Regions from separate parts of the Homo sapiens genome. Here regions 1, 3, 4, 5 and 6 are each linked to region 2. The links are contacts of gene promoters, found by promoter capture Hi-C in human tissues and cell types (Jung and others, 2019). All regions are on one chromosome and are shown on one strand. The core of a region is centred on a gene start or on the middle of the fragment in contact, and the rest is flanking DNA. Distances in the headings are between cores, read along the strand shown.

Region 1 (2,700 bases), core at 39-2,538, 770 kb after region 2:
TACTCCCCTGAAGACCATCCTGCTGAGAGCCCTCCCTTCTACTGGAGCAGTTGATCATCCCACCTGTGCTGATAGCTAGGGAAACTTAGGCACCAAAGGTGCTGCTCCACCAGCCTGGCTGACCTTTCCTTTTCTCCATATGGACTGGACATGAGGAACTACTAAGCCTGGAGTGGCAAACCTATATACTACCCAACACTGCGGTCTCCATCCAGTCCTGGGTGTTCATACTCTATAACCCTCCATTCCTGCAGGCACCAGACAAAATCACTTCGGACCACGAAACTCCAGGCTGTAGAGGCTGCCCCATCCTACAGGCCCATCTCTCCCTTCCCTCACCTCAGGGACCATCTGAAAGAAAACTTTAAGATTCTCCCTCCTAAATACGAGCCCCAGGCCTTCCAGCTGCTCATGTGGACATGACACCTCCACTCTGGGACATCTCAGGATCACCATGCCCAAAACCTATTCCCTGCACAGCCTTACCCATCTCCATCCTTCCTGATATTCAGGAACAAACAAAAATACAAATAAAAATCCAGAATGGCTCTTCATTCCCTACTTTCTTTCACAGTCACATCTGATGCAACAGGAATTCCCGTCTGTTCAGTTTTTGAAATCCATCCAAGATCTGATCACTTCCCCTCCTCTGTGGCCCAGTCCCAGTAGACTCTCCACTAGTCTACTGAATTTACCTACTCACAGGTCTGTCTTCACCCGCCTCACCCCCACCCCAGTCTGTTTTGACTTGAAGGGCCTTTGGCAAACTTTGAGAAACAGATCTTGTCACTCTTCTGTCTCCAGCCCTCCGCGGCCACTGTGGCCCCCTCAGGATGAAAGCGCAGCTGCTCGGGCTGTCGCTCGACACGCGCCTCGTCCCTTCCCAAGCTGCCCACTACAGACACCAGGAGGCCTCAGGTTCGGGACTCGCTGAATGCGCCTCACATCTTTGCGAGCCGGGCCCCTTGCCCTCCATTGCCACCCCATCACACTGCGTGTCAGAAACGGGACGCCGCCCACGAACGCCCCACAGTTCTGCACCCGGGGACCTGAGCAGGCGGCCCTCACAGGGCTTTAGGATTCGGGGGAGGCCGGGAGGACGCGGCGCTCACCTGAGCGGGGTCCCTCAGCGTGGCCGCCGCCATCGGAGCCTGTGGCGGTGAGACAACGACCGAGGAAAGGGCCCGGGCCACCCTGGGCGCCGCCACCGAGCCTCAGACCCGCCTCTGAGCTGCGAGAACACAGCGCGTCCCCACCGCGCTTTCCGGAGCTGGTCGCCGCAGCGAACAACCAGCTTCCGGCAAGCTGAGTTCTCTTGAGGGCAGCGAAAGCAACCGCCGAGGGGAGACGCCGGAAGTCCCGCCCATTGCGCGTCGCACTCTCGGGTAGACCTCTTTTCATTGGCCAAGCATCGCGGCTCACGGCGCGGCGCCTTCTGGGCAGTGTAGTTCGCGTGGCTCCAAACTTCGAGGAAGTGGGCATAACTTCGGAGATGGAGATTGGAGACGGTAGATGATGGAGATGGAGATGGAGATGGAGATGATGGAGATGATGGAGATGGAGATGATGGAGATAGAGATGATGATGGAGATGGAGATGATGGAAATGGAGATGATGAAGATGGAGATGATGGAGAAGATGGAGATGATGGAGAAGATGGAGATGATGGAGAAGATGGAGATGGAGATGATGGAGTAGGAGATGGAGATGGAGATGATGGAGATGATGGAGATGGAGATGATGGAGATAGAGATGATGATGGAGATAGAGATGATGATGGAGATGGAGATGATGGAGATGGAGATGATGGAGATAGAGATGATGATGGACATGGAGATGATGGAGATGGAGATGATGATGAAGATGGAGATGATGGAGAAGATGGAGATGGAGATGATGGAGTAGGAGATGGAGGAGAAATGAGTGTCGAGAACTCTCGGACTCATCTGGAACCTGTTGTAATTGGAGATGGGCCTGGATTTCAGTTTCCTGCAGCTGATACTCCAATCTTTCCTTCTTTTGAAGGACTTGAAGAGGATCTTCAGGGCCACCATAAAGAGGTTTCACTGGGCAAAGCCACGTATACCTTCCTAAATTTCCTTTGGCAAGGGGACACCCAATATTAATGCCTGATGTATGATAATAAGAAAAGGCTCTGAATTCTGGATGTAGGTGATGAGAGAGTAGGGGAGCCCAAGGATTTACGTTCCTCTTTCACCCCATTCTCATTTGTGTTCTTTCCTTCCTCAAGGACCCAACATTGGTGTAAAGGCACAACAACAGGCAGCAAACCCATAAGCCAACTCCCCCTCAATTTCTCCCCTTCATCCATTTCTGCTCCATATTCCTGTCACAGTTACTATGGGACTGAACGAAGGGGAACGAATGCAGAAATGAAAACAAAGGCAAAATAAATCTGTTTTAAAGAAGGGGTCAGGGGGCTTCTTGCTTCTAGTGAGGAAGGGCCCTGAGCTTCCACAGACCTTCATATTTATTGGGTAGAAAGAGTAGGGAGGTGGTGGCTTACGCCTGTAATCCCAGCACTTTGGGAGGCCAAGGCGGGTGGATCACAAGGTCAGGAGATCGAGACTATCCTGGCTAACACGGTGAAACCCCGTCTGTACTAAAAAATACAAAAAATTAGCCGGGTGTGGTAGCAGGTGCCTGTAGTCCCAGCTACTCGGGAGGCTGAGACGGGAG
Region 2 (2,700 bases), core at 176-2,675:
CTGCTCAGCCTCCCAAGTAGCTGGCATTACAGGCACCCACCACCACGCCCAGATAATTTTTGCATTTTTAGTGGGGACAGGGTTTCACCATGTCGGCCAGGCTGGTCTTCAACTCCTGACCTCAAGTGATCCGCCCGCCTCGGCCTCCCAAAGTGCTGGGATTACAGGCATGAGCCACTGCGCCCAGCCTGCTCTTGCTTGATTTTTTAAATTGTCAGATCACTAATACAGAGACACCGAATCAAAAGGAGAGTAGGACAGTTGTTCATAATCCCACAAATCAAATGCTTACCTCCTCATGTACCATTGCTTCTCTCACCTATAGGCACACATTTGAAATAATTTGTTAGTTATCCAAATAAGAAGTGAACCACCAGGGAATTAAATGCTATGGGCTTAAAAGGGAAAGTACTCATCTCCTGCCCCAGTCACTCATCCTCTCAGCCTCCCGACATCACTTTTTTTTTGAGATAGGGTCTCACACTGTCACATAGGCTGGAGTGCAGTGATATAATAACAGCTAACTGCAGCCTCAACCTCCTGGGGTCAAAGAATCCTCCCAACTCAGCTTCCTGAGTAGCTGGGACTTCAGGTATGTGCTACTATGCCCGGCTAATTTTTGTATTTTTTGTAGAGACCAGGTCTCGCCATGTTGCCCAGGCTGGTCTCCAACTCTTAGGCTCAAGTGATCCACCTGCCTCAGCCTCCCAAAGCACTGGGATTACAGGTGTGCACCACCATATCCACTGCACCCACCTCCAGCCACTTTTAACCATATCTGTTCCAATTCTTCTTGAGGACACCTCCGTAATTCTAATCTTTGATCATCTTTAGTCTTTTTTTTTTTTTTTTTCCTGGAGACGGAGTCTGACTCTGTTGCCCAGGCTGGAGCACAGTGATGCAATCTCAGCTCACTGCAACCTCCACTTCCTGGGTTCAAACGATTCTCCTGCCTCAGCCTCCTGAGTAGCTGGGATTACAGGTGCCCACCACCACGCTGGGCTAATCTTTGTATTTTTAGTAGAGACAGAGTTTCACCATGTTGGCCAGGCTGGTCTCAAACTCCTGACCTCAGGTGATCCACCCACCTCAGCCTCCCAAAGTGCTGGGATTACAGGCATAAGCCACCGCATCCAGCCAATCATCTTTAGTTTTCACTAACTTCCTGCTCTGACAGGTGAGGATCTGACTCACATCCGCTGCCAATTCCTCTCATATTACATTTCAAGCTTTAATTTTCATCTTCTAAATAAACTTACATATCATGTTTAAAAGCCTACTTCCTAAAAGGATGGTAAGGGAAACCTCTACTCTCCACTACTACTTTCCCCATCTACTCTCCCACATCTGCAGGTGGGGCTGACATTGTCAGTGACAGGAATAATGACAACAGTGCCCTACCCTACGGCCACTATGAAGTTGTCAGGTCACAGCCATGTGTTACTTCCTAAAAATTAAAAGCCAATACAGGCCGGGTGCAATGGCTCATCCCTGTAATCCCAGCACTTTGGGATGCCAAGGTGGGCGGATCACAAGGTGAGGAGTTGGAGACCATCCTGACCAACATGGTGAAACCCTGTGTCTACTAAAAATACAAAAATTAGCTGGGCGTGGTGGCACGTGCCTGTAATCCCAGCTACTCAGGAGGCTGAGGCAGGAGAATTGCTTGAACCCGGGAGGCGGAGGTTACAGTGAGCCAAGATCGCGCCACTGCACTCCAGACTGGGCAACAGAGACTCCTTCTCAAAAAAAAAGAAAAAAAAAGCCAATACCTAGGGTTCACGTCACAGCTATGCAAATGCCATTCCCTGAAGGGTCAATCAACAATCTGACTGCATCTCCTCCTCCTTTATTCAAATTTCATGAGCTTTTTGCCCCCTCCAGCAAGAATTACTCACATCAGTGTCAAGTGAACACTACTTTCTAAAGTTACCTTCACATAGGAACTATAACCATCTAGCAGAATTTGTATAGTTTGAGCACAATTTACCTTGAAGCCTTCAATTAAAATTACCTTTTTTTTTAAGTTATGGGTGAATAAACATTCCTTTTCTTGCCCTATTCCTTTTCTAGATTAAAGCTATTCCTTTCTTAGATTCAAAACTATTTTCTCTAGAGAAGGTTCTGCCATGCCATTTGCTCTGTTTTGAGACAGAGTCTCATTCTGTCGCCCAGGCTGGAGTCCAGTGGCATGATCTAGACTCATTGCAACCTCTGCCTCCCAGGTTCAAGTGATACTCCTGCGTCAGCCTCCTGAGTAGCTGGGATTGCAGGCATTTATCACCACACTTGGCTAATTTTTGTATCTTTAGTAGAGACAGGGTTTCACCATCTTGGCCAGGCTGGTCTCAAACTCCTAACCTAGAGTGATCCACCTGCCTCGGTCTCCCAAAGTGCTGGGATTACAGGCGTGAGCCACCATGCCAGCCCTGCCATCTTTTTTTTTTTTTTTTTTTTTGAGACAGAGTCTCGCTTTGTCGCCCACGCTGGAGTGCAGTGGCACAATCTTAGCTCACTGCAACCTCCACCTCCTGGGTTCAAGCAATTCTCCTACCTCAGCCTCCCAAGTAGCTGGGATTACAGGTGTGAGCCACCATGCCCGACCCTGACATTTTTTTTGTTTGTTTTTTTTTGAGACAGAGTCTCGCTTTGTCGCCCAAGGCTGGAGTGCAGTGGCACAATCTTAGCTCACTGCAACCT
Region 3 (2,700 bases), core at 41-2,540, 520 kb after region 2:
CAGTCTGTTCTCCACTGTACAGCCAGAGGAGACTACAGCCAGATGAAACTGTGGCAACATCACCTCCTCCCTCTGGTCAGTTTCACCTCTAAGCATTTCACATCCTGGTACTAACTCCTGGGTTAACCTTCCAAGTATGTTTATACTGGTTGACAGAAATGGGAATACCTCCATATATCCTGTGTCACAGACTTTGGATCCTGGGTTTAAGGTTCCTCCAGGGTTCCCATATCAAAAAACTTAAAAAAAAAAAAAAAAAGGTACCTAAGAATCCCAGGACATCCCAATCTAAAGAGCATGTGGATAGGAGTTAGGGCCAGTGAGGGAATAACACCCTCCGCTTCCCTGCGGAGGTTCTGCAAGTGCTTCTGCAGCCAGGAGTTCCTGAGAGGAGAGGCACAAGCTACAAGAATGTATCCCTGATGAGATTTGATAAGCTCAGGCCTCCCTGAACTCTTTCTTGGCCCTGTAACTAGGTAAACGCGAGTTGGTTGTCTGAACTGAGCGCCTCAGTACAAAATGTCATCTCTTAGCACCTATCTGATCTGTAGAGGTTGAACAAGAATTCAACCTCCCAGGGCCCAAAAGTCATCCCCTGTGTTCTTTTTCGACTGGACTTTGGGAAACCTTTAAAGCCTGGACATTGATCTTTTCCTTCCTTTGTTGGAAGCTGTCCATGGCTTCCAGCGTTCTCAGGGTGAATACACGGTCCTCAGCCTGCTCTTCCAGGAGGAGCTCTGCCTCACACTTTGCTCCCGACAGGTGCCTGTGGACCCTAGGTTACGATCCTCTCGGCTCAGTTCATCTCCAGGCCTTTGCCTGCACCGCTCCCTGTGCCTGTAGCTCTCCTGAGCGCATCCCGCGGGTGTCAAAAACGGGGGCCCATAGAGAGCGCCTCAGTGTCCCGACGCCGGGTTCAGGGTGTAAAACCTTGAGCAGGCGCCGCTTCCTCTCTGCTTTTGGACTTAGGTAAAGATGAGGTGACCTGAGGGCACGGAAGACGCCACAATTACCTGAGCCGGGGGCCTCAGCGCGGCCGCCGCCATCCGACTGGGTGGGGAAAGCGGGGTCGAAAGGAGGGGGCGAGCAGTGCAGGTACCCGGGCACGGTGGTCCCGATCCCGGCCTTGGTGCGGGTCACGCCTAGCGCCTTTAAGGAGCTGCAGAGCAGCCTCTGTGCAGTCGGGACAACGTCTCGTCTCCACCTTCTGGGTTCAGTCACTTCTACACGACCCAACACTCCGCGGTCTCTCACTGGAAAATACACCCAACACCAATCAAAATGGCCACTAGTAGAGGACGCCGGAAGTCCCACCTTTATACTGTTTCCGCGGAAACGCCTTTATTTTGAGCCCTCATTGGCTCTGACGCGCTGTCATTCGACGCAGAGATTTCTGGGTTATGTAGTTTCCTCAGGTTCCAAGACAGTTCCAAGGCGGTAAAGAAGGCCTTCTCAGAGGCGCTTGATTGCACAGAGTGGTGAATAAACACTACTCTGGCCTAAGTGTCATCTTCCCTCAATTTGACTATACTTCTGCATGTATCTATTTCATGTCTATTTTCTCCTTGAAAGTCTATATCCCCTGTCAAACTATGCTGTCAGGTATACCCTACCATCACGTTCACTTACTTGCAGGAAAGGCCCAGCTCCATCTCAGCGGCCTGTCCTTAAAGTGCATGTCCTTCTAGGGTAGAGGATAGTCTCACCTAGCCTTAGAACCCGTATTGAGATTTTTGGAGATTAGTGTCTGTAACTGATCACTCAAGTATTTGAAAAAATATTATTTTAGATTTTGGGGAACTCGAGCTCTCCGATGCTAAACTTATTATTTAGGATGCCCCCAAAGACTAAAAATCCAAATTATCATAACGTTTTGAACAGTCTTTCAGTCGCAAAATCCCGGTACTGGCAGCAGAGGCTGATAAACATTATTGTGTTATAAATTCACATGAATGCACTCTGAGGCATTAGAGTCAGTTTCTCAGTCTGTCAGGGACAAGAGAGAACTAATCCAGATAGGACAAGACAAGGAAGATAGAGGAGAAATGTTGTGTTCCCTAAAGCAGGAATACATGCTGAATCTCTGTCTGTGATTCCCACAGAAGACAACTCTCCTGCCTATAAAATCAATCATAGTGTCCAGTACATTGAGCAACACTTTTATCCACTTAGTATCCCTCGCTTGAGATTCCAACTTATATTCAATTAATTCTGGATTAATTTATCTAAGATTTATCAATCTTACAGGAAGACCAATGAAAGAAATGCTATTTTGGTAGTGATAAATGGCTGCAGTTTTCAAAGGTGGGGCACGTATGCAGAAGATGCTCTCCACCTGTTGATATTGGTTGTGTCTTAAATCCAGGAGTTCATGTTATTGCTGGGAAGTGGCTATTTTTTTTTTTTTGTATTAGATAAAACAGACTTTATTTATTTCTTTTCTTTTTTTTTTTTTGTGACTATTCTTTATTTCTGTTTCCATGGCAAGGAGTGTTTTGCCTAATAAATTAATGTTATGGATGGGATTACAGGCATGAGCCACCATACCTGGCTAATTTTGTATTTTTAGTAGAGACGGGGTTTCTCCATGTTGGTCAGGCTGGTCTCGAACTCTCAACCTCAGGTGATCCACCTGTCTCGGCCTCCCAAAGTGCTGGGATTAAAGGCATGAGCCACTGTACCCAGCCGCTCAGTTCTTAA
Region 4 (2,732 bases), core at 52-2,551, 740 kb after region 2:
GTCCCACCCTCAAATCCATCCTATGCAGTGTGTATTCCTTACACATTCCCTTTGGAAGTACCCCCGGAACCCCATGGCCCTCCTATCTGCAGGCAGCTTCGCCAAGGCCGACCCACACTTTCCCAGCCTCCAGCCTCAGCCCTCCCTCTCTTCATCTCAAAGTAAAACCTTAAGATTTCCCGTCTAAATTTAAGGCTTGGCTTGAGTCTACGCCCCAGCCTGTCTCCATTTACACATCACTGAGTCAGTCCCCTCCCATGAATTTTCTACTTATGATTCCAACTGCCCATGTAACAACTTCACTCTGTGGCAATTTAGAAACACCACGTCCAAAATTCAACTCCTACTATTTCCCTGAAACCTGCTCCCTCACCAGATTTCTTTGTCAACTCTTCCAGATGTTCAGGTAAAAGAAAAACTTGGGATCATACTTCACTCCCACTTTTGCTCATAGGCACAAATGATGGAGCAGAAAATCCTGCTGGCTTTACCTTTAAGATCTACCAAGATTCTTATTACTTAGGTCCCTTCAGCAACCCGTCTGGTCCAGAATCCACCATAATCCTCCTGGAGCCTACTACAGCAGTCTCCTCACCAGTATCCCTGCGTCCACCCCCATCACTCCGTAACAGTCTGTTTTCTCCACTCATTGCCTTTGAAATATTTTTTCAGACCCTCACTCAGATCGTGTTCTCCTTTAGTTCACAACCCTCCATGGCTCCCAAAGACTCAGAATTAAAAACCCCGGTTGCTCAGGCTGCCATGGCAGCCGTGCCTTCTTCTCCTCATTCTCTCTGCTCCCTGCAGACACAGGTCCGCCCCCAAGTTTCCGAATGCTCGCGACCCCGGCGCACCTCCCAGGCTCTGCGCGTGCAGCCCCCACGGTACGCAACGCTCTCCCTTCTTCACCTCACCGCCCGTCAGCTCTGAGGACCCCACCCAGAACTCCTCGCTGTCCTGGAGAAGAGGCCTGAACTGCAGAGACCCACGCAGGTGACCCCAGTCCGGGGCCTCAGGACCCAGGTGAGGATCCGAGGACTCCGCTCTCACCTGCGGCGTAATCACTAGCGCTGCCTCGGCCATGGGACTTTAGGCGGGGCGGGGCCTGGAAAGGCGGGCGGTAAAGCCCGGGATCCGGCGTGCGTGCGGTGGCAAATCGCTGGGCGACGCTCAGACCGAGACCAGGCAAGCTCCTCTGCGGGCGGACACCACCTCCACCGGTTTCCGGCTCCAGTTACCTGGCCCGGACCCAGCGAGCCGGAAACGCCCAGCCCGCGGACGCGCTCGCAGGCAGCAAAAACGACCACCACCGGAAAGACGCCGGAAGATTCTGGCGTATTGCGCACTTACGGAGGTGCCCCTTTCCTGGGCAATGATTGGTCTAAGGCCCCGGCACGCTCGGCGCACAGTATTCTGGGTGGTGTAGTTCCTACCACGCCGCAGTCCGCCGCGCTGTGAGGACTCAATCCAAGAAAGAGAGGACAAAGGAAAAAACCCATCAAACTAGGGTCAGCAAAGCCTATTACATACACAGGATAAAAGAATACGATTTGATCTTCATTTCTCAACACAAAAGTTGACATATATTGCATACAATACATTAAAAATGTTGACAATTGAGAATTGACGCGACCCTTAATTTTTTTCTTTTTTTTAATGTAGAAACTATAACCAAAAATAAAATTCAAAGGCCTCCCAACTATCTGAATGGACCCCCTCCTCTCAGCATTATAGAGTTAACCTGAAAATCTAGTTCAGGCCATTATGGAAGAAGGGGTTGGACATGCCTCATTCTACCCCTACAGCAATAACATCAGCATAGACCTTAAGTCTGATAAGAAACATTTACAATCTATTTCTCTGAAACTTGCTACCTGCAGGCTTCATCTGTATGATAAAACCTGGGTCTCCAACCAAGGTGATCACTAACAGTGGGGTCAGCATCCCCTTATCCCACACGTTTGTGTTTATTCTGTTTTTTTGCCCTCAAGTGTTAGTGACTTAAATTACATAATGTATCTATTATCATAAGTGGAACTGAAATGAGATTGCAGAAACATTATATCTTCTTTTTCTTTTCTTTTTTTCCTTTTTTTTTTTTGACAGAGTCTCACTCTGTCGCCCAGACTGGAGTACAGTGGTGCAATCTCTGCTCACTGTAACCTCCACCTCCCAGGTTCAAGCGATTCTCCTGCCTCAGCCTCCCGAGTAGCCGGGACTACAGGCATGCGCCACCACCCCCGGATAATTTTTGTATTTTTAGTAGAGACAGGGTTTCACCATGTTGGCCAGGCTGGTCTAGAACCGGCCTCAAGTGATTCGCCTGCCTTAAAGTGCTGGGATTACAAGCATGAGCCACCATGCCTGGCTTTTTTCCCCCATATTTAGCAATTAGCTTTTGTTGCTATCCATTGTCTTCATTTCTCTTTAGTTTTTAATTGTTTATAATTTTGACATTTTATAATTACTTAAGAAAGGTTAGAAAAATTACCATTTAGATTGGAGTCATATTAAATAAGACACCTATATTGTAAAAATATCTTTATGAATGTAATCTTTGGCTATAGTGTTGTAACCGAGCGAGTTATAGAGAAATGCCACACTCTGAGACTAATTCTGGAGTCCTTTTATTGCCAGCGACCGAGAGACAGCTAGAGCTCAAAATTCTTGGCCCCGAAGAAGGGGCTAGATTTCTTTTTATACCTTGATCTAAATAGGGGAGGGGGAGTTTA
Region 5 (2,700 bases), core at 18-2,517, 710 kb after region 2:
TAGGATAACAGAAAACCCAAAATAAGAGAAAGAATGGCCAAAATCCCAGTCAGGATGACATGTCCATGACTCTTCTGGGCAAAGCCAAATAAGAGAGAAAGGGGGCAGTAACCAGGTGGGTCCCTGAATTTCCCTCCTTTTCCAGAATACCTAATAATTATTCCACTCTCTAATTAAAGAAACACCCACAAAATAGGAATGCTGTGTGGTCACAGGAGAAGGGGGAAAACATCAAGCTGTTAAAATTAGCTACTCCAACAAGAAGACTGGGCTGATGAGACCTTAACAAACAGGATTGGGGCTAGGCTGTCCCATGACGCTAGATTTGACCCATTTCCTACCCCAGACCTAATTATACACTCATTGCCACATTAAATCACACACCCACCAGTGCCAGGCCAATCCAAGCACGCCCACATTTAGTATAAAAATGGTTGGCACCCCAATTCTAAGAAATTCCCACCTTTTCCTAGAAAAACCTCATGATTATCCCACCCCCTAATTAGAAGAGCCCATAAAATTAGAAACCCAAACTCCATTGTGCATGACCCGCTCTCCCTCGTACGTCCGCATTTCCCTCTTCTCTTGGGAAAAGTACACTCTTCTCAAAAATGTGTACTTTTTCTTCCCAATAAAAGCTTCTTGCCTTTGGCTTCATTTTGACTCATCCCTGCATTCTTTCTCACGATGGTGTCACGAAGCTGGACTCCGGAAGCGGGCGGGGACTCACGGCCCCTGGAGACCTTCCTGAGCCCTGGGCAACACCAGTCCACACAGAGGAGGCAGACGTCCCACAGACGGAACCCCACGAGCATGTCCCGGGAATGGCTCCACGCGGGAAGCGGGGGTCCAGATCCACGCCAGTCCCAGGGACAGTGCCTGGCGTCAGGGTGGAGGAGGACGCAGTAACCAGGCGTAAGATTTTACTGGTACATGGGAATGTCACTGGGTCACTCAGAGGAGGCAAGCGGGGAACCTCGTGGCAGGGCCCCCTTTATCAAACTCGTTTACCTGGGTGCCTGGGCGAGTGCTCACAGCCTGCTTGTAGGGACGTTGAGGCATCCGAATAATAGGAAGTTTTAAAAATTTACAATCCAGTGTGTACACTTGCTCCGCTAAGATCATCTGAGATATACAGAAACATGGTGTGCATAATAAAAAAGGAAAAAGAGCCAAGCCTGGCCTCTTACGGGACAAGACTACATTACCTAGAAGGCAGTGGGCCGGCGCAGGAAAAGGCGTGGCAGGCGACCGCGACACAGGGGCGGGACTTCCGGCCTCGCTGGCGTGGACGTTTGTGGTGGGGCGTGTTGGTCCGCGCTCTCAGAACTGTGCTGGGAAGGATGGTAGGGCGACTGGGGCTCACCTCCGCACCGTTGTAGGACCCGGGGTAGGGTTTTGAGCCCGTGGGAGCTGCCCCACGCGGCCTCGTCCTGCCAACGGTCGGATGGCGGAGACGAAGGACGCAGCGCAGGTGAGCAGACTGGCTCGGCTCCCCGCGGCCACCCGGCCTCAGTGTCCCGGGCCCGACGAGCGGAAGGACGGCGTTTCAGGGTCGTCCTCAGTGCAGTCCCTGCCGTTGCTTCTTAGAGGCCTAGAAGGGGGTCGCGCGGTCCCGGGTCCGGAATGCAGGCCCGCGGTGGCGTGGGGAGCGTCCCCGTTTCTGGGGTGCGCGGCGTTGTGGTATGAAATAGGGCTTTTAGGGTCCCGGAACCCCTCACAGGTGAGAGGAGCGACCGCAGTCCTCCTCGTGGCTCTTCCAACCATGTCCTTTCTCGGGCCTGCGACCTTGAACAAGTCCCGTTACTGTCCTCGTCCTTCATTTTTGCGCGCGCAAAGTAGAAATATTTACTCTTCCCCCCCCCGGGGTTGAGGAAGCTTGAACGGCTCCCTGGGTGATGTGTGTGTGTCCGTCTCAGTGCACAGCACGGTCCGGGGACGTCGCTCAGGATGTTGTTTCCGGAGCTGCTCCCTGGGCCTGTGCTAGGTTTGGAGACTCAACCCCAGCAGGAGTCTGACCCTCTGGCCTCCTTGGCCTCCTGTCTCTACAACACGAAGGGCAGCGGCTGAAAGAGGTGGGAGGAGCGTTTCTGCGGTTGCTGCTATGCCAGGGCAGAAAAGGTGGTAGGGCAGGCTGAGGAATTTGTCTTTCAGTTTAGGGCAAGGGACGCTGGGTTGCAACTAACAGTATATTTTCCTGTTTAAGACATTTAGTTACAGGTGAAAAACGAGTCCATTAAAATGTTCAGTGGCGATGGTATGCAGGATGTAGTGTCCCTTTGGAGATAACACATGAGGCCCAGGGTTACTCTCTAGCAGTCACTCTGATTACTTTCATGATAGCCCAGATTACTGTCAGCTCCTGTCGTAGTTGTTAATTTCTCATCCACCTCTCCCTCCTTTGCTTTATTTCTGACTCCCTCTGGTGTCCGCTGCTTAAAGAGGTCTCGTCTGTTGCACCGTTTAAAGCTGACCAGAGTCTCTTTGGTCTCCTTGCTCTGTTTTCTTGTCATCTGAATCTTTAAGGCCATCTGACATTGCCTTACTCATTTATTTAGTTGCCTGTTTAGGATCTTTTTCCAACCCTGGAATGTGAGTGCCTGTTGCTTCCCTCTCCCAAGACCCAGAACAGCCAGGCTTAAGTACATTTATTGTACTTAATAAATGGTTGATGATTGAATAGGCCTCTCTTATAGGGAC
Region 6 (2,700 bases), core at 102-2,601, 670 kb after region 2:
CCCTTAAACCCACAGTCTGTTGTCTGTGCTCAGCCACAGGAGCCTCATGAGGCCTGGGGAAGATCACCTCCCTCTTCTGCTCCAAATCTTCATTGCTGCCATCATCTCCAGAACAAAGACATCTGAGACAGCCATTTAGTTTCTAACTCCTGTACCTCTGCTCTCTGTTCCCATGAGAAGGAAATGAGACTTGAGGTTCTCTTAACCAGCTCAGCCTCACCTCCAAGCAGCTCCAAACACCTGTACTTATCTCTGGGACAAACTTCCACATTCATCCTATTATTTGCCAGCAACAGGCACCACCTCATATAATACTCACCCTGGACATATTTTTGTTCAGAGTCCCTAGGCTCAAGGCCTGGAAAAGCGGTAAGTAAAGAATCCCAGGTCACCACAGTCCCAATCCTAGAGATCCCATTGCTGGAATCAATGAGCTTCTGGATTTCCTCCACTTACCCTTGTAGGGTCTTCAAGTGCTTCTTACGGACCTGTAAGTACTAGTGGCAATCTGTGGGAGGAAACATGTTCTGAGAGGCAGGTGACCAAAGTGTGGCTCCATGGACTTCTGGTTCCAATGTGGAACACCAGAGCCAGGTGTCCAGGGATGACTGCTTTGTATCTGGGTGTCAGTCCTTGGTGCTGACTTTTACCAGCTTTGTGACCTCGTAAAAAGACTAGGTCCCTCCATGCCTGCTATCATCACTGCCCTTCCAGCGCGTTCCTCTGAACAGCTTTTGTGAAACTTTTAGAAGCGTGACTGGGGCCGTGCCCCTCTTCTGTCCTACGCGCTGTGGCCCTCAGTGTGCTGGTGAAACTCAGTGGGGCCAATGCAGCGCGGCGCTGCCCCACCCTCTGCTACCTGCACGCGTGAGGCCGGCCTGGGTCTCCCCAGCCTCCCGGCTCAGGCGCAGCTCCAAGCTGTTGCCCGCGCAGCCCCCTGACCGTGTCGCTCTCCCGCTCCCTGCCACACTACCAGAAACGAGATCCAGCACCAGCGCCTCACTGTGCCGGACAGTGCGGTCCGGGCTGCAGAAAACCCTTCACGCGTCCCTCAGTTTCGGGTGGGGAGGGCAGAGGAGGCCGGGAGGACGCAGCGCTCACCTGGGTCGGGGCCCTCAGTGCCGCCGCCATCGGACTCTGGGCGGAGCGGGCCGGGAGCGGTGGACGATCCGGGCGGAGACAAGAGCAAAGCTGTCACCACCGCCGGCGACCGTCAGGCCCCGGCTGTGCAGCTGAGAAAACGACTCTCCTCGCGCCTTCTCGCTGTCAGCACCTAGGTCCAGATCCGGCACCCGCGGATGGAACTGACACAAGCCAAAGTGCCCGCCACAGGGAGGACGCCGGAAGTTCCGCTCCGACAAGTTGGACAGAGCGGAAATGTCCCTCCCCTGAGCCTCATTGGCTCCACGCCAAGAACCTGGCTCACGGGCCTCTGGGTAATGTAGTTCTCACCGCTTCTTGGGCTGGCAGAGGTCGCCCTTCTCCTGGACCTCAGGGAGGAATGACCCCGTTGCTATGGAGAAAGGTGGAGGGGAAGGCTGAGAGGTGGTGTCTCCAGCCTCCTTGGACAAGGGAGGAGCTTCGCTGCTTTTTTAAGGTACCATACAGAGATTTTTGGAGGGTATTGTGTACAACTAGTCACCTAGGTAGTCAGAGTTATTCAGATACAAAATGCCTCTACCCTTGGCGAGAGCCTAGTAAACATTACCTTCTTTCTCCACACATTTATGTAAAGTAGAACGTTAGAGTCAGCTTTGTGAGTTTCATTATGCTCAGTAAGGAATAAGGGAAATAGAGTTTACATAGCGCCATGACAGGAATGATAAAACATCCGTTAGATCGCACCGAAGCTGGAGGACGAAAGAGGAATTTTGTCTCACAGAAAATGCCTCTCCTGCCTGTGTAATCGGTGAGTGTGTCTAGCCCTGTAAGGAACAGTGTTGTATTCATATAATATTTCTTCCTCCATATTCTTAGATATGCTTCTTTTAGGATTGTAGCAACTTTCTAAACAGAAGAGCCACTTAGCATATGCCATTTTAAAGTAGAACAGTGTCTGTAGTGTTCACAGTCAGAGCACTTGTGCAAAGGGGACATCAGAATACCAGAATAAAGGTTTGGGACACCTAGCTTTCATCTCTTTGATGGGAAATTTTGATCATTGATACTGTTACTGCAGGGACAGTGCTTGCATGGGGAGTTGAGATCATCTTAGAAAAACAGTTGTGAAATGAAAATTACTGAAACCTATTGTATTAGTCAGGATTCTCCAGAGAAACACAGAACCAATAGGATACATAGATGTACAAGAGGGGATTTATTATGGGACTTGGCTCATCCAGTTATGGAGGCTAAGAAGTCCCAGGATATACCTTTTGCAACCTGGTAAGACACGAAGGTGGGTGGTATCATTCAGTCTGCATCTGAAGGCCTGAAAACCAAGGGAGCCTATGGTGAAATTCCCAGTTGGAGGCTGAAGGCCTGAGAACTGGGTGAGGGTCATTCTTGTATGTTCCAGAGTCCAAAGGCCCAAGATCCAAGAACTTTAATGTTGGAAAACAGAAGGTGGATGATCCAGGGCAAGAAGAGAGTAACTTGCTCTTTCTCTGCCTTTTTGTTCTATCTTGGCTCTCAAAGCATTGGATGTTGGCCCCTAACACTGATGAGGCCAGATCTCCTTTACATTGTCTACAGACTCAA

Evidence for each region. The method cuts DNA at HindIII sites, captures the fragments that hold promoters and counts their contacts. A contact is called where the count stands out against the background at its distance.
Region 1: a contact is called between the fragment with the promoter of ZNF773 here and a fragment that was not itself captured in region 2, in 2 of the 25 tissues and cell types used here (lymphoblastoid cells and spleen).
Region 3: the fragment with the promoter of ZNF776 here is called in contact with a fragment that was not itself captured in region 2 in 1 of the 25 tissues and cell types used here (small bowel).
Region 4: a contact is called between the fragment with the promoter of ZNF549 here and a fragment that was not itself captured in region 2, in 5 of the 25 tissues and cell types used here (IMR-90 fibroblasts, mesenchymal stem cells, pancreas and 2 more).
Region 5: a contact is called between the fragment with the promoter of ZNF550 here and a fragment that was not itself captured in region 2, in 4 of the 25 tissues and cell types used here (dorsolateral prefrontal cortex, heart right ventricle, pancreas and 1 more).
Region 6: a contact is called between the fragment with the promoter of ZNF530 here and a fragment that was not itself captured in region 2, in 3 of the 25 tissues and cell types used here (adrenal gland, dorsolateral prefrontal cortex and spleen).

The regions. Positions count from the first base shown.
Region 1 is chr19:57,498,526-57,501,225 of GRCh38, reverse strand. It overlaps ZNF773 (zinc finger protein 773), which reads right to left and starts at 1,288. Exons shown (of 4, transcript NM_198542.3): 1 at 1,113-1,288. The coding sequence starts at 1,145. The HindIII fragment of the contact is 9,164 bases long and covers 1-2,700 here.
Region 2 is chr19:58,269,369-58,272,068 of GRCh38, reverse strand. The region is part of intron 1 of ZNF8-DT (ZNF8 divergent transcript); the gene reads left to right. It also overlaps a transcript of ZNF544 not described here. Among named protein-coding and RNA genes, the nearest start is that of ZNF8-DT, 8.0 kb to the left of the region's middle. The HindIII fragment of the contact is 7,344 bases long and covers 1-2,700 here.
Region 3 is chr19:57,745,405-57,748,104 of GRCh38, reverse strand. It overlaps ZNF776 (zinc finger protein 776), which reads right to left and starts at 1,290. Exons shown (of 3, transcript NM_173632.4): 1 at 1,014-1,290. The coding sequence starts at 1,046. RefSeq lists an enhancer at 1,229-1,278. The HindIII fragment of the contact is 15,716 bases long and covers 1-2,700 here.
Region 4 is chr19:57,525,925-57,528,656 of GRCh38, reverse strand. ZNF549 (zinc finger protein 549) reads right to left here and starts at 1,301. Exons shown (of 4, transcript NM_001199295.2): 1 at 1,051-1,301. The coding sequence starts at 1,083. The HindIII fragment of the contact is 19,998 bases long and covers 1-2,732 here.
Region 5 is chr19:57,558,430-57,561,129 of GRCh38, reverse strand. ZNF550 (zinc finger protein 550) reads left to right here and starts at 1,267. Exons shown (of 4, transcript NM_001397372.1): 1 at 1,267-1,474. The coding sequence starts at 1,448. LOC124904781 (a long non-coding RNA gene) reads right to left here and starts at 1,188. Exons shown (of 2, transcript XR_007067357.1): 1 at 1,012-1,188. RefSeq lists enhancers at 906-1,015, 1-1,159, 1,646-1,695, 1,137-2,001, 2,146-2,225. The HindIII fragment of the contact is 8,093 bases long and covers 1-2,700 here.
Region 6 is chr19:57,598,536-57,601,235 of GRCh38, reverse strand. It overlaps ZNF530 (zinc finger protein 530), which reads right to left and starts at 1,351. Exons shown (of 4, transcript NM_001321981.2): 1 at 1,102-1,351; 2 at 457-508. RefSeq lists enhancers at 884-1,003, 1,094-1,303. The HindIII fragment of the contact is 9,316 bases long and covers 1-2,700 here.